Linked DNA regions of Homo sapiens: region 1 is linked to region 2. Evidence: promoter capture Hi-C in human tissues and cell types (Jung and others, 2019). All regions are on one chromosome and are shown on one strand. The core of a region is centred on a gene start or on the middle of the fragment in contact, and the rest is flanking DNA. Distances in the headings are between cores, read along the strand shown.

Region 1 (3,206 bases), core at 102-2,601, 59 kb after region 2:
TTCCTAATATGAGCTCAGGAGTTGGGTGACTGGGCTCAAGCATGTGCATTAAGAGTTTAACTGGTATATGACCTGCTAGAAACATTTGACTGGTAAGGGAAAAATGCCTCAAGGGAACATACGGACAGCTCCAGTAAACACACTCTGCATGCTTCCCTCCCAAGCACTAGCAGGCCACTGAGCATGTGGACAGCCTACCCTGAAGGAAGAATCAGGGGAGAAGGGACACAAGACGCTGGAAGTATAAAACTTCAAGTCAACAGGTCAAACTGCACACTTGATTTCTCAAGTCGCCCGCTTGGCCCTCTTCCACATGTACTTTACTTCCTTTCATTCTTACCCTAAAACTCCTCAGTAAGCTTTCACTCCCGTTCTAAAACTTGCCTCGGTCTCTCCTCCTCGGTCAAATTTTTTCTTCTGAGGGGGCAAAAATTGAGGTTGCTGCAGACCCCTATGAATTTGCTGTCAGTAACACTAATTCTAAAATCTGTAAGAAAACAAAAAAGACCAAGAAAACATAATCGGTGTTAGTGAAGAAAAATATTAAAAGAATTTAGTATACTATCAAGAATGATCAATGAAATAATAATAAAAACATTAATTAATCAACATACAAGGGGAACAAAATAGGCCCACACACATATGAAAATAAGATTTACAAAAAAGGTGATACTGCTGAGTAGTGGAGGAAAGACGATCTTTTCAGTAAATGGCATTAGGTCAATTGAATGTCCATATAGCAAAAAATAAATCTTGAGCCACCTTCACATTGTAAACCATAATTAATCTCATGTAGACTATATATATAATCTTACAGTAAAATAATACAACTTCTAAAGAGTAATACACGAAAATAACAACGTGAGCTTCGCAAAAGATTTTTAAACAGGATATAAGTAAGTACACATGAACAAAAGATTGAAAAATGTAGACAATATTAAAATTAAGAAAAATATATTCCTGAATTTCAAGGATGAAAAGTTAATATAAATAACATGAAAAAGAATAATCATAGGCTTATCTCCATAGATTCAGAACAAACTTCTCTTAAAATTCAACACTAATTTATAATAAAAGTGCTTTGAAAACAAGAAATGCAGGGTAATTTCTCTAATATCAGAAATATCTAAAACAACAAATATTCATAATCATGAAATATTAATAATGTTGTTTCTAGCATTGGAAATAAGACAAGAATGCCTGTTTTCATAAGAGAATGTATGTCTGCAATCTCCACTTTTTTTCAGCCTTATGTTGGTGATCCTAGTCAGTACACTAGCCAAAAAATAAAAATAAAAATAAAAATAAATTTTTTAAGAATTGCAAAAAAAAGAAATAAAACTGTCACTATTAGCAGAAAACATTTGAGTGCACCAAGAATATCCAAAATGATCTACAGTCAACCTATTAGAATTCATAAGTGAGCCAGCATCTGGAAAGCAGAGTCTTTCCACATTATGACAACACTTCCATTCTTCTTTCCAGTAGCTTATTATATGAAACACAAATGCCATCTCTCTGGATACCTCGTTGACCTAAACTGTGCCTTGCCTTTTTTACATTGAGCATGCCATATTCATCATTCTTTGGGGCCATCTAATCAAACCTATCTCTAAACAAATATCTGTGTTCTCTTTATCATATTGTCCCTAAATGCATCCACATAACCATGTGACTCTGTCTTCTACCCTGTAATTCTTTATCGGATCATTCACATGACACTAGATTTGTATCAATATTTTCTAGCTTAGCAATAAACTGGAAACTCCTTGAAAGCAGGGAACACATACTGAACAAATTTGTTTTCAATTATGTCTTTTAAGCTTGATATACTCAAAAGATATTGATCAAATTAACAAACAAAACAGCTTACTAAAAAGAAGTGCCGTAAAATGACATTTTGACAATTTTTTTTTTGTACTGCAGCTTTTTCTCTGTTTGAACAGCTTGTCTGACAATCTATATAAACACCTTGCCCCAACTCCTTGTTCCTAAATCCAGATAGCTAGTCATGGACAATCCCTTTAATCAATCAGTTTGCAACTCAAACAAGTAACAATCTGGATGATCTGAAAGAAAGAACAAAATGGGCTTTCCCTGGGCACAGCTGGCATGATGTACAGGGAGTCAGAAGATGTTCTTCACTGTAATAATTATTTTGACTCTTACTGAATGGCTTAAACTCCCTGGGTATCATTCACAATCTATTTTTGTCTGTAAGAATCTTAACCTTCCCTTTGATTGAATTTCAGGTATAGTACAACACTGGATGAAAATCAGTAGGAAATTAATATTCAGACAGCTATTAAGGATGTTAAAATTAACAGTATTATTATTAAAGTTGGCATGATAATTTATATCCAGGCCATATAACTACATTTTTGCCTTTCCAGCTGCATAATGTTAGGACTCACTTTGGATTTCCAGCACAGAGTATTATGTCATAAGCCCTGAGTCATTCAAAAACACCTGATGAGTACGTTCTATGTCAAGGAAATATATGAGCACTGTTGAGACACAGCGAACAAGGCAGACAGATTATTTGACCCCATGATGTTTACAATTTAGTGCTATAAATATTTTTATAAGTTAATAATGGGTCCAAGCTATTAACCCCTACACTGGTTTATCATCTGAGACTATATTTTACAGTCTGTACTGTGTCTTAAGAATATTATATTTCATTATTTTACTTCTCTCAAAATGCTGAGGAGAGATTTCTTTTATTTAATTCATATTTTTCTCCTTGTCTTAAAATATATTCAAAATAATTTAAATATCAAGTTAAGTTCAGTGATTCTGGAATATCTATAAATGTTTTTTTTTTGAAATTTATTTATTTATTTATTTATTTTTATTATTATGCTTTAAGTTTTAGGGTACATGTGCACATTGTGCAGGTTAGTTACATACGTATACATGTGCCATGCTGGTGTGATGCACCCACTAACTCGTCATCTAGCATTAGGTATATCTCCCAATGCTATCCCTCCCCCCTCCCCCCACCCCACAACAGTCCCCAGAGTGTGATGTTCCCCTTCCTGTGTCCTTGTGATCTCATTGTTCAATTCCCACCTATGAGTGAGAATATGCGGTGTTTGGTTTTTTGTTCTTGCGATAGTTTTTTACAATAAACAGACTCTTCAATTTTGATTTGAGGAGAACTTTATGGTCATAATTATTTTACAAATAAGAAAACTGATTAT
Region 2 (3,408 bases), core at 751-3,250:
TCCAAGTTTCATTTAGGTGGAATAAATTGAAGTAGGCTAAAAATCAGTCACTCTATCCCCACATCCCCCAAGCTCCTAAAAGCAAATACCTAACCAGCAAACAAAAGCAATACAGAGGCACATTATTGCGACAATTTCAGCATCTCCCTGACCTCACAAGCTGCTGGTGGCATTTAATGTGGATTGGTCTTTTGCCTGTTTTTTTTAAATCTGTTTTTCTCTCTTCTTCAGTATTTTATTCTCACATTGTTTATTTCTTTCTTCCTCACTGTATCTGACTGGATTCTTGTAAAGTATAACTTCATTTTATATAGATCATGTTGTCTCTATCCTTCCTCCATCCCTTCCTCCTTCCTTAAATCCTAACCTATTTTGATTCCTTCCTTCTCAAATCATTATATTTAGAGGAGAAAGCTTTTTAAAAATTCCTCATTTATACACAATTACAAAGCTTTTCTTTCATATTTTTGCCTCCCTAGAAGAGATGAATAATTTTTTTCACTTTGATATGCATTTTGCTACTGACCACATCCAGATGTACCTATTTCTTTTATTTTTTATGAGAATTCTCTTTTGTAGGGTGAGGAGAAGAGGTAGGGGTGCTGAATTTTATGTTTCTTACTATCTTTAACTTTGTTGTCCACTAAAGTCACAATCTCCTTCCTCTTCCTTTACTGTTCAGTTTTCCTATCCCTTGTGGACCCATCCACCAAAGTTGTTAGTTTTTTGGTTTCTTCTGCCGAAAATATTGTCTTCGTCTTTTAATTTTTTTGTCAACACTAAAACTACTGATTTGTTTTGATGCTTTTTGTCCATGCTAACTATAATATTTTTTCTACCTTTTAGAATTCCCAAAGATATATTCCCAGTGGAGATATTTAATATTTATATAAAAAGCTATATTTATTTATTTTCTAGTGATAGCCATAGCTCCGAGCTATCTAACATTTGATCAGCCAAAAAACTACTATGTATCTATTTTTTTAATTTTTTTATATTTGGCCTTTTAGGCTCCTCAAGAATCCCAACAACTGACACTTCCGTTCTTTATGTACCAAAAGAAATTTGCTATTCTTCATCTCTATTATCACCTCATCTTCATTTATTTGTGTAGCTTTCTCCTTTAATTGACCACAAAGTTTAGTTTGATCACCCTGCACAGGACTCACAATGAATATCATTCCATAAATCACTGCCACTTTCAAAAACCAACTTTCTTTTGGTATTCAAAGCCCACACACACCATGTCAGACTACAGATGAGGAAAAAGAACCTCCTAATGAAAGAAACAAACACAACAATCAACACCCATCATCCCGAGTATATGTCTGTGTTTGTAACTGTGTTTAATTGAATATTCATAGCACTTCTTTCTTTATGTGAAGATTTTTGAGACTAGGAGCACATTTTTCTCATACCATGACAATTTCATACTTATTTTTATTATTAAAAAAGACCTATACACTAAGAGCAAATATCACCCAGCATGAAATCAAAGAAAACAATCATCCTCTTAAGGTTCTGAGGATCATCACTGGCTGTCTGCATTATCCTGACTCATCAGCATCGGTTTAACAGTCCTGACACTTTGGAGCATCCTGCCAGACCCATACTCTGTGTTTAACTGCCACAGTTCACCTCTAACAGCATCAGCAATATCATTTTTCTTTCACTCTATAGAGTTGTCTCTATAGAGGTCCCTCCTTCCCCAGCATTTGGTGTGAAAACTTACCGCTTTTACCAACTCCCCCTGCTCCCAGCATTACCACCTTGTACTCTCTGGACCCGCCTGATGCGCTGCCCGGGGAGCAGCTGGCTTCATTTTCTACCTCCATCTTACCCGAGGGACCGGAGGAAAAAAAGAAGGAGAAAGTCACCCGTGTCAGGTGCTTGCTCGAATATTAAGCAACTCTAAAACTGTGTCAAAGCAAAGGTTTTAGTACGAGGTAAGAACCATCAGCGTCGGGCTGGCTGCTGGTCCTCCGCTCGAGCGGGTCTCATAGCAACCACTTCAATTGCTTCCAATAAAAATCTGGCTTTTGCATCCCCCACCCTTCCTTCCGATCCTTCACTCTTTCACGTCTCCTACAATCTCTCTCTCTCTCTCTCTCTCATTTTCATTTCCTCCCTCATTTGATTCTTTCTCCATTTCCCTTCCCCACTGTCTGTTTCTCTCCTTTCTCTTTCCTGCCTACCCCCTGCACAGTCACAGTTGTCAGTGGCACACACACATTCGACCCCTTTTCAGGCTGCGCTGCTAGAATGGAGTGAATCTGAGACCTCACAGGAGTTGCTATGTCTCACAGGATGACTTCTGTAGGTACAGCTTCAAAGATGCTATTTTCTTTTAATCAAAGTCAATTAATAAGGATTTCTTCTGCTTATAGTCTTGCATTTTATCACTCTTCTATTGCAGTTTTCATTCCGGGAAAATGGAAAAGCAAAACAAAAACAAAACAGAACAGTAACTCAGGGCTCATAAGGATGGATCTTCAGTGTTATTGAAATAACAGCCGGCTAACAGGAATTGTTCAGCTCACTAGACAGTTGCAGGTTTAACATAGGGGGGTAATTGAATTAGATCATTGTCATATTTGGACAAGGCTCATGCTTGTTTACGTTAAGTTATTAGAAACAACTTAAATCACAAGGACTATCAAGCATGAAAGAGATAATTGATAAATATTTTTACTGACAATTATACTAGCATAAAAGATTGTAGAAGAATATTTTTAAATGTCCAAACTATTATTACCTGTTTGAATTCTTATAAAGCTTTGCGGTCTTTGTTTTTCTCTAAAGAACTTCTAAACTACAGAGGGTCAAGAATGTTTTCAATAATTCCTAATTGTCATAATAAGATCCTGTCTTTTAATCAACATGATGATGTTTAACATGTTTATTGTCTATTTTCTAAAGCTTGAATCATTATCAGATGCAGACAAGTGTTTGGTGTGCATAGACTAGACTTGTCTTTCTATCTAGATTTTAAGCTCCACTAGGAAAAGAACTATATTTAGTCCATTTCTTGTGATTCTATAATATGTGCACTGAGTAGGCACTCAATATATACTTGCTGGTTTCTGTAGAGGCTTCAAATTGTTATAGCCAAGAGCACAGTCTCTGAAGCCAGAATGCCTGTGTTCAAATCTGGGCTTAGCCACTTACCAGCTATATGACCTTAGGCAAATTCCTTCACCTCTCTGTGCCTCAATTTCTTTATCACTGAATAGTTAATTAAAACCCTACTTTGTTAACTCATTAAGTGAGCTAATATTTATATAGTGCTTAAAACTGTGTCTGACAAGTGATAAGTACCACACAGGTATATGATATGAAGAGTATGTTATTATTTTGAATCTGTGCTGCTGTCAGTCTACTGTTTACAAACACTCGCCCAAGAAGAGA

Evidence for each region. The method cuts DNA at HindIII sites, captures the fragments that hold promoters and counts their contacts. A contact is called where the count stands out against the background at its distance.
Region 1: a contact is called between a fragment that was not itself captured here and the fragment with the promoter of RIT2 in region 2, in 2 of the 25 tissues and cell types used here (adrenal gland and pancreas).

What each region holds. Positions count from the first base shown.
Region 1 is chr18:43,172,999-43,176,204 of GRCh38, forward strand. No RefSeq gene overlaps it. Among named protein-coding and RNA genes, the nearest start is that of RIT2, 59 kb to the left of the region's middle. The HindIII fragment of the contact is 4,069 bases long and covers 1-3,206 here.
Region 2 is chr18:43,113,685-43,117,092 of GRCh38, forward strand. It overlaps RIT2 (Ras like without CAAX 2), which reads right to left and starts at 2,001. Exons shown (of 5, transcript NM_002930.4): 1 at 1,733-2,001. The coding sequence starts at 1,835. The HindIII fragment of the contact is 9,119 bases long and covers 1-3,408 here.